3 separate regions of the Homo sapiens genome follow, and regions 1 and 3 are each linked to region 2. The links are contacts of gene promoters, found by promoter capture Hi-C in blood cells and fetal thymus (Javierre and others, 2016). All regions are on one chromosome and are shown on one strand. The core of a region is centred on a gene start or on the middle of the fragment in contact, and the rest is flanking DNA. Distances in the headings are between cores, read along the strand shown.

Region 1 (3,158 bases), core at 423-2,922, 270 kb after region 2:
AAGACTAGCCTCTGAAGAAGATGCACAGTGAGGGAAGGTAGATATAGACATAGTGATAATTTTACCTTCTCTTCCCCCTTTTCTTTCTCATATCCTTAAAAGCTTTCTCTAGAGCCTCTTTTTTAGGAAACAGATGGTGCAAAGTTAGTCTGTTTCCATGTGTCTTTAAGAAAATTACTTAATTGGCCTTATGCCCACCTACCTTGTCATGGTAACTTTTCTGTGATTAACTCATTTTTTTTTTCTTGTGACTAACTCATTATTTTCCCCAATGTCAAAAGCATTTGGTGGTCAAAAGTTTTAGGAATGAACTTTGACTTTTAAATTAAATGTCTGCTTTCAAAAGAGATCTGATTTCTTGAAGCTGTTCTTAAAACCAAACTATGGAAAATACCAATCTAGATGATACATTAACATAGCAATAGCAATATTTTGAAACTGTACAGTGTACATTTCAAAACACTTCATGGGCTAGGCACTGTGGCTTGGCTCCTGTAATCCCAATACTTTGAGGGGCCAAAGCAGGAGGACCGCTTGAGCCCAAGAGTTCAAGACCAGCTCGGGCAACACAGCGAGACCTCGTCTCTACATATACAAATTTGCCCGGGCATGGTCCCTCACACCTGTAATCCCAGCACTTTGGGAGGCCGAGGCGGGCGGATCACACTGAGGTCAGGAGTTTGAGACCAGTCTGGCCAACATGGCGAAACCCCGTCTCTACTAAAAATACAAAAATTAGCTGGGTGTGGTGGCAGGCGCCTGTAATCCCAGCTACTCGGGAGGCTGAGGCAAGATAATCACTTGAATCCAGGAGGCGGAGGTTGCAGTGAGCCGAGATCACGCCATTGCACTCCAGCTCGGGCAACAAGAGCAAAACTCTTGTCTTAAAAAAAAAAAAAAAAAAAAAATTGGCCAGGCATGGTGGTGGTGTACACCTGTGGTCCCAGCTATTCGGGAGGCTGAGGTGGGAGGATCACTTGAGCCCCGGTGGTCGAGGCTGCAGTGAGCCAAGATCGTGTCACTGCACTCCAGGCTGGGCAACAAAACCCACAAAACACTTTGTGTACATTATCGCAGTTTATCTACACAACATACCTGTGAGAGCAGGTGGTATAAAGCCATTTTCTATACTGAAGAAAAGATTTCATCACCACTAGTTGATGGCAGAATTGGCCCTAGAATCTATGTTCTCCCTGACTCCAGCTCCAGAATCCTTTTGAGCTTACCATATATTACGTTCCCTACCAGGAAAGGATCATGGTGCCTTGTGGTAGAAAATGTTCTTCTGGTTTGCATTTTTAATACAGTCCTGGAAAAAGCCAGCCAGTTTTAGGCTGCTTCCCATAGAATTCTGAACACTGAAAACAAAGAATAATCAAGAAGGATTTTCTCCAGGTGACCTGTAAATTTGGCTTCCTGTGCCTGCTGCATCGGGATCATTAAATGGTGGCCTATTGTTTGATGGCATAGTTTTTTTGCCTGTTGCTCTCACATATTAGCTTTTCTGAATGAGACTGAGCAGTGGTGCCTGTGGTTACTTTAACAGAGATAATCTCCCATTTAAAAGGACCTCATACCAACAGTTCTGTGTCATCTCTGTGAATTTTAACCTTTTCTTTACCACAGTACGTCTGAAAGCACTGCCACAACAGTGATGTTCACATAGACGTAGAGTAGGGTTAGACACACTCTATAGGACCTTTGCTTCTCCCTTTCTCCTCTCCTTTGGGAGTCACTGGGATTGTTGTTTATAGTACATGGTATATATTTCTGCTATGAATTAAACAGGATCCCTTATTTGTTTCTTTAAAAAATAATGTCATTCTCCACCTTAATTTTCCTGAGCTTTCTTAGATTTATGAGTGGGAATTAGGTAGGTGTGTAAGTTGCTGGGAGATTTTGTCTAAAAAAAGGTAATTATTTGTGGATATGTAGGGGTCTCTTCTTCCAAGAGGCATCTTTCCCACTCCCAGTCCTGACTCAAAGCACATGAACAGCAATCTTGAAGTAGTTATCCTCGCTCATGGTTAATCCTTGGATAATGCAAGCCTGATACCATGTTCTGAGCCCTACTGAACATTTCTAAAGAACTCGGATTCCTCAGAAACCAGTGTTATCATTCCTGAACTACTGTGATAATTTGTACACCTCTGTTTAGCTTGATTCTGAGGGCCTGCAGTATCTCAGTCGTTGTACTCAGTATTGGATTTAAAAGAAATTCATCAGTGTATTAGTAAACAAGTGTCTTAAATCTTACACATCTGGTAATTTTTTTTTTTTTTTTTTTGAGACGGAGTCTCACTCTGTCACCCAGGCTGGAGCGCAGTGGCACAATCTTGGCTCACTGCAAGCTCCGCCTCCCGGGTTCACGCCATTCTCCTGCCTCAGCCTCCCGAGTAGCTGGGACTACAGGTGCCCGCCACCGTGCTTGGCTAATTTTTTGTATTTTTAGTGGAGACGGGGTTTCACCGTGGTCTCGATCTCCTGACCTCGTGATCCGCCCGCCTCGGCCTCCCAAAGTGCTGGGATTACAGGCCACATCTGGTAATTTAAGACTAGCTTTTGCAGATGCACAGTGAGGGGAGGTAGATATAGTGATAATTTTACCTTCTCCCTCCCCTTAGGAGTCTATACTTTGCTCACAACTCATCTCAATGCCATCCTTGTGGAGAGCCACAGTGTAGTGCAAGGTTCCATCCAATTCACTGTGGACAAGGTCTTGGAGCAACATCACCAGGCTGCCAAGGTAATAAGGAATTCACAGCCTCTTTTCTCCTATTCTCTAAGAAAAAGATAGCAAGCATATATGGCAGGCAGGGCCCAGGAGCCCTTCCTCCCTTAATGCCCCTTCCTCTCCTCTTCTGTCACCTGGGTGATCTTGTAACACTGCATCTAGCCTACAACTCAAACTTTAGCTTAGATGGATCACTGTAACCAGCTTGCTTAGTCTTACCTCCTAGTAGGTGTGTTTGGGTAAATAGGGAAATAGTTAATAGGGAAAAATGGCTGATAACACACCTCTTCCTTATGCATATAATTCCCCTTCCCACACAGACTTCTGGAGCTGCTGTTTCGCTGTGTCTTACATTCTTCCCCCATTTTCCTAATTCTTTACACCACCACTTTCTCTCCTTACCTGATTTTCTACATCCATCCAT
Region 2 (3,124 bases), core at 25-2,524:
GTTGTTCACAGGTGTGATCATAGCACACTACAGCCTCAGTCTCAGCAAAAGCCTCTGCCTGGCATAAAATGTGTGTGTAGAGCCTGTACCTGGTGTAATTTTTTTTTCTAATTATAAATTGACAAATTCCAGTTGTATATACTTATGGGATACCAAGTGATGTTATGATTTATCAGTACAGCTTGGAATAAATCAAGCTAATTAGGATAGCCATTACCTCAAACACTCATATTTTTGTGATGAGAATTTACCACCTGTTTATTTATGTATTTATTTATTTGAGACGGAGGGAGTCTTGCTCTGTCACCCAGGCTGGAGTGCAGTGGCTCGATCTCGGCTCACTGCAACCTCCGCCTCCCAGGTTCAAACAATTCTCTTGCCTCAGCCTCCCCAGTAGCTGAGATTACAGGCACGTGCCGCCATGCCCGACTAATTTTTTTATATTTTTAGTAGAGACGGGGTTTCACCACGTTGGCTAGGCTGGTAAACTTCTGACCTTAAGTGATCCGCCGGCCTCGGCCTCCCAAAGTGCTGGGATTACAGATGTGAGCCAACGCACCCGGCCTAACCACCTATTTAATATTGAAACTTGCAACCCCTTTACCCTGCTCTACTTCTTGTTTCCAAACTACTATCACCTTCTAGCATTCTATATGATTTGCTTATTATTCCTCTAGTTTCTCATCTGCACCCCCCTCAAATCAGGAATTTGTTCTATTGTACCCTTCGTCCCTGTAACAAAACCTTGCACCTAGTAGGCTCCCAATAAGTATTTGCGAGTAAATAAATAACACTCAATTCTAGCTCTTCCATCCCAGGTTCTAAAAAAATGTCTGATTCTAACAACCTGGATCCTAATGTAACCCGGTTCTAACATCTCAGGTCTTGGGGCCCCTCCCCCCTGTCCAAGGCTCCCACTTCTCCCCGCCCGATCCCGCACCCCACTCACGCCCAGCCCTGGCCCAGACCGCGGCCGGCCAGCATCACGCCACGGATGCTGGGATCCGAGCGCAGGAAGAGCCCCACGTTGCCCAGCAGGTTGAGCAGCTGGAAGGCGGCCAGCGCCAGCTGCAAGGCCCGGGCCAGGGGTCCCAGCGGCGGCGGCCCGGGACCGAGCACCAGCACGTAAGCCAGCTCCAGGCCCACGGCCGCGGCCCACAGCGCGGTGAGCACGAGAGGCAGCTGCGCGGGCGCCCCGTCCGTGCTCCCAGCCGCCCAGGGCTGCCCCATGGCCTGGACACCCAGCTGTCGGAGCCGGAGGACTAGGCCGCTTCCGTATTGGGGCGGAGATAGCGGCAGACGGACGTCTGCTACGGCCAATAGAAGCTCGGAAGGGGGTGCGGCGAGCGCTCAGACTCTCAGGGAACGGCCGGCCCACGCGGCGAGTTGATCTGGCCAACGGACCAGCAGTGGAGGCGCTCGGAATCCCGCGGCGCTGGAGCCCGGATAACGCCGCGGAGTGATTGACCCGCCCACCCTGGAGGCTCCTCCCATCCCGTCGGAGCCCCGCCCGCTGGCGCGGGGGCCAGGAGTGCCCGGGGGATTGAGTTGCAGCCGGGGTGGTGTCGGGGTTTCCCGGCTCAGCACATTCTCCCCTACTCCCCACAGCCGCCCCGATATTAATAGCCCTGCCGCAGCCCATCCAGCTGGCTCAGAGCCGTTCCCCATGCCCGGGTGTCTCCATCACCCCAGAAAACATGCAAAACAGCTCGGCGCCTCTGTGTTCCTGACTGTGAAATGGGGATAGGGCTCTGTGTCCCACCAGCGAGGTGCTGGAAGAGGCTCACGAGGAGCTCCAGAGGGCAGCCTCTAGAGCGGCCCGCGGCCACTATTATTATCGGCCTTTCTATTGTGGAGAGGAGTAAACAGACTCAGAGAGGTCCCGTGGATTTCTCAAGGTCACACAGCGCCCCAGCAGCGGAGCAGGAATGCAAACCCAGGATCTCCGCCGCGAGATCCACCCCGGCGCCCCCGAGTCCCGCAGTTCCCGGCTTCAGGACAACCCCTTGCCAGGTCCAACCCGAGCTCCTTCACCCCCATCCGGCCCCTCCCTCCTCCCCCATATTTAGTGCGAATTCGATCTGGGGCTGGGCTGGGCCCTACTTAATGGGGCCCGGGTGTCCGAGAGCGTGCCGAGCGGAGCGAAGCCAGGAGCCCGATCGAGATGATGATGGTTATGCAGCCCGAGGGTCTGGGGGCCGGGGAGGGGCGCTTTGCGGGCGGCGGCGGGGGCGGCGAGTACATGGAACAGGAGGAGGACTGGGACCGCGACCTGCTGCTGGACCCGGCCTGGGAGAAGCAGCAGCGGAAAGTGAGTGCTCGCCCATTTCCTGACAGCAAAACCGAGGCCTGAGAGGCCGGGCTGTTTGTCCTGGGCATCTCAGCAGTGCAGGGGCAGAGCTTGTCTTTAACCTAGAGTGCTAATCCCCAGCCCAGGCTCTGCCCATCAGCTGCCTGCTGTCCCCAGGGCTGGAGGAGAGGGCTGGGAGCCCTCAAGAGGGGTTTAAAATGACAAGAGAGTTTCTGGGCTCCCCACCCCCACCAGGGTTCATTCCCCTGGGCCCACTGCCCCACTTCTGCTGCTGAAAACAGGCTGGGCAAACCCCAGGAGATCCAAGTTAGGGGGGGTTCAGAAAGAAGAATCTTCTTCTAGTTAAATATTCCCAGACCCCACCCTGAAGGCTTGCAGTCAGGCAACTAGTGGACTTGGGAGTGTGGGGGTAGTGAGAAGGGTCCTCTCAGACCCCACCCCACCTCGTCTCCAGGGTGGGGTCCATAGTCGCTGTATCTCATTTAACAATTGAAGAAACTGAAGCCCAGAAAGAGCACAGACAGGCCCCACATCACAGACTGTCAGACATCAGGACCCCCGCAACCTGAGGATCTTTACCCTTTTCCCTACCCCCATTCTTTCCCAAGATACCCCAGGCATGGGGCCCTGAGTCTGCTGAAAAGGCCATAGGTCGGGGAGGAGGGGAGACCTGGGTCCCCTTACGCTGTAACCTGACTCTCCAGCCAGATGGACACTTAGTGCTGAGGCAGCACCTCGGGGGCGCCAAAGAGGGGCACAGGGGCAGCTGCTACCCAGGCCCAGCCCGTTGGGCACTCAGGGCCCCTCCCTCCC
Region 3 (3,451 bases), core at 231-2,730, 260 kb after region 2:
AAAATTTATGTCAAACAGAGATTGATTTTAGAATCTTTGAGAGATGGCTTAGCTTTGCTTTGCTTTGCAGGGTGGAGAATGAACCCACTTTGAACCTTGGGAATGGAATTGCTCTTTTGGTCGACTCCCAGCATTATGTGAGGTGAAGGCGTAAAGCCTTGTTGTCCCTCTGCATGTTTTACTCTCCTCTCGAGTACGAATGTGGGTAGAAATTGGAAATTGTCTCACTTGTCATTTGTAAGTGCCAGGTGTCAGCTTCTCTATAAGAAAAGCAGAAGTAAAACTTTTTTTTATGTTGAAAACTGCTATTTTAAGTTATTTATGTATTTGAATCTATTCTAAATGACCTGAAGACATGTGCCTTCTTCTCTTCAGGCCTTATTTTACACAGACCCTGCTAGTTCCAATCCCATTTAGGCATGAGAAGAGAAGACTATGAATTTAAAACTTTACTTGAATTCTTGGCTAGAGAGATAGTATGAATACAAAGGAATTCAGTGTACATTATTTTCTGTGCATCAGCATTTTGCATAGGTTTGGAAATCATCTCTCTGCCCATCTCCATCTTCTTCAGACTCCAAGAAAGTAAATCTGGCCAGGCGCAGTGGCTCATGCCTATAATCCCAGCACTTTGGGAGGCTGAAGTTGATGGATCACTTGAGGTTAAGAGTTTGAGACCAGCCTGGCCAACATGGCAAAACCCTGTCTCTGCTAAAAATACAAAAATTAGCTGGGCATGGTAGCACATGCCTGTAATCCCAGCTACTTGGGAGGCCAAAGCATGAGAATCACTTGAACCCAGGAGGTGGAGGTTGCAGTGAGCCGAGATCACGCCACTGCACTCCAGCGACAGAGCAAGACTCTGTCTCAAAAAAAATAAATAAATAAAAAATGTAAAAAATCCATGGAGGAGGTGGTAAACAATATGGAACACACAGAGCCCTTCTGTCTTGCCTTCCTGTGCCATTTAACTACCACAGAATCCAAAGTGAAAATGAATTATGTCAAGAAAAGACCTAACATATGCTTAAGTCCAATTAATTTATTTTTTCTTTTTTTGAGACAGGGTCTCAGTCTGTTCAACCCAGATGCCATCATAGCTCACTGCAGCCTTGGTCTCCTGGGCTCAAGTCATTTTCCCACCTCAGCCTCTCGAGTAGCTAGTAGCTAGGACCACAGAAATATGCTACCATACGCTGCTAATTTTTTTTTTTTTTGAGACGGAGTCTCGCTCTTTCGCCCAGGCTGGAGTGCAGATCTCACCTCACTGCAACCTCCACCTCCCTGGTTCAAGCGATTCTCCTGCCTCAATCTCCTGAGTAGCTGGGACTATAGGTGCATGCCACCACGCCCAGCTAATTTTTTTGTATTTTTAGTAGAAATGGGGTTTCACCATGTTGGCCAGGATGGTCTCAATCTCCTGACCTCGTGATCCTCCTGCCTCGGTCTCCCAAAGTGCTGAGATTACAGGCATGAGCCACTGCGCCCAGCCCATATACTGCTAATTTAAAAAAAATTTTTTTTTGTAGAGATGAGGTTGTTGCCTAGGCTGGTGTCAAACTCCTGGACTCAAGCAATCCTCCTGCCTCGGCCTTTCAAAGAGCTGGGATTACAGATGTGAGCCAATGTGTCCAGCCCTAATTTAGTCTTTATTCATTAGTTTCTGCCTCTATTTATGTGCCCAGAGGCAACACTAGTAGTCAAAGTCTCTTAAGGCTTAAAGAGACTGCCTGTGGTTCTTAGTCTGTTTTCTTATTCTCACCCAAAATTACACCTCAGATGAGAATATTTTTGTCATTTAATATGCAGGTAATAATTTCCCCACCCCATATCTTTCTTTAGTGATCCTCTAATAATAAACAATCCTTACAGGTAGCAGCTCATCATCATAGTTGTACTGACACAAGTTTAAGCCTTTGAGCCAATTTTTGTAGATGTGTTTCCTTGGATGACCTGATTAGAGACAAAGGGAAAGGTTCATTAATATTTCCTCTCTATTAATTAATTCATTCATTCTTAATCAGCTTTCTCAGGTTGACTGTTTTCTCTCTGTTTAGAAAAGAGCTATTGGAAAGTAACAAAATTTTACTAGATTCTTTCTAGGAGAGAAAGATGGCCTGGTTTTTTCTCATTGTTACTATCAAACAGCAACCTCAGACCTCTTCAGCGGAAGGTGTAGCATGCGTGAGAGCAGACTTATAAGTATCATGGGGCCAGTTTTAGGCCATTTGTGATTCATGGGCCCCCTCACACAATGCTGACCTTTGAATGAATTTGGAAATTTGCTCAGAACCAAAGATTAATTTTAGTGGAGGAAGTATACTTGAGAATAAGAAACAGGCTGGTCATGATATCTCACACCTGTAGTCCCAGCACTTTGGGAGGCCAAGGCAGAAAGATTGCTTGAGGCCAGGAGTTTGAGACCAGCCTAATAAACATAGTGAGACCCCATCTCTAATAAAATAAAATAATAGTAATTATTTTTCGAGACAAAGTCTCGCTCTGTTGCTCAGGCTGGAGTGCAGTGGCGCAATATCAGCTCACTGCAACCTCCGCTTCCCAGGTTCAAGCGATTCTCCTGCCTCAGCCTCCTGAATAGCTGGGATTACAGGTGTGCACCATCATGCACAGCTATTGTATCTTTAGTAGAGATGGAGTTTCACCATGTTGGCCAGGTTGGTCTTGAACTCCTGACCTCAAGTGATCCACCCACCTCAGCCTCCCAAAGTGCTGGGATTACAGGCATGAGCCACAATGCCTGGTCTAAAATGTTTTTTTAAAAAGAGAAACTAAGAAGCATCCGTTAGTGGCAGCAAAAGCAGGAGCAATGATATCTCTGAAATGCCAGTTTTTCTACTACTTCCATTGCTGTGATTCCCTGAGTGAGACATAAGTTATTTATTCCAACAAAACTGATATGGCAGGTTGTGTGGTTGTACATATGCTAGAGGTTACAAAAATAATTTTGAATGCTCTTTTAAATAATTTCTTAAGAGGAAAAAATGTTAAATTTGACTTGTCTGTTTTCTGACAGTAGACCAAATTTTGGTACAATTGAATCACACTGCAGCAGAATTCACCCTGTGCTAGGACATCCAGTAATGCTTTTCATCCCTGAAGACGTGGCTGGCATGGACTTGTTGGGAGAACTGATACTGACTCCAGCAGCTGCACTGTGCCCCAGCCCAAAGGTTTCTTCCAACCAGCTTAACAGGATTTCTTCAGTTTCCATATCCTTTTGATGAAAAGTTCCATCCAATTATCTTTGAAATGGGTTTTTATATCCCAGTTTTAGGAAAGCCTTTAGTATGTGAATTCTGCATCTACAAATATATATGATTTGTATAAAAACATATAATCTAATGTGAAAGCCAAGCTTGAAAATTTTGCCAGGGAACTGAAAACTGTAAAATGTGACACATGCCATGCGTTTTTCATACAATCCAATATG

Evidence for each region. Contacts are between HindIII fragments. The CHiCAGO score rates a contact against its expected background, and 5 or more counts as called.
Region 1: a fragment that was not itself captured here is called in contact with the fragment with the promoter of ZDHHC24 in region 2 in 1 of 17 cell types (M1 macrophages); the score reaches 6.2 in M1 macrophages.
Region 3: a fragment that was not itself captured here is called in contact with the fragment with the promoter of ZDHHC24 in region 2 in 2 of 17 cell types (M2 macrophages and M1 macrophages); the score reaches 6.9 in M2 macrophages.

Annotation. Positions count from the first base shown.
Region 1 is chr11:66,819,019-66,822,176 of GRCh38, forward strand. It overlaps TOP6BL (TOP6B like initiator of meiotic double strand breaks), which reads left to right. Exons shown (of 15, transcript NM_001302084.2): 10 at 2,625-2,746. Among named protein-coding and RNA genes, the nearest start is that of RCE1, 23 kb to the right of the region's middle. The HindIII fragment of the contact is 3,144 bases long and covers 101-3,158 here.
Region 2 is chr11:66,544,774-66,547,897 of GRCh38, forward strand. It overlaps ZDHHC24 (zDHHC palmitoyltransferase 24), which reads right to left and starts at 1,275. Exons shown (of 3, transcript NM_207340.3): 1 at 950-1,275. The coding sequence starts at 1,230. ACTN3 (actinin alpha 3) reads left to right here and starts at 2,130. Exons shown (of 21, transcript NM_001104.4): 1 at 2,130-2,311. The coding sequence starts at 2,165. RefSeq lists enhancers at 440-549, 1,698-1,757, 1,828-1,877 and silencers at 1,028-1,267, 1,448-1,577. The HindIII fragment of the contact is 15,014 bases long and covers 1-3,124 here.
Region 3 is chr11:66,800,961-66,804,411 of GRCh38, forward strand. It overlaps TOP6BL (TOP6B like initiator of meiotic double strand breaks), which reads left to right. Exons shown (of 15, transcript NM_001302084.2): 6 at 71-142; 7 at 3,035-3,230. Among named protein-coding and RNA genes, the nearest start is that of RCE1, 41 kb to the right of the region's middle. The HindIII fragment of the contact is 3,787 bases long and covers 1-3,374 here.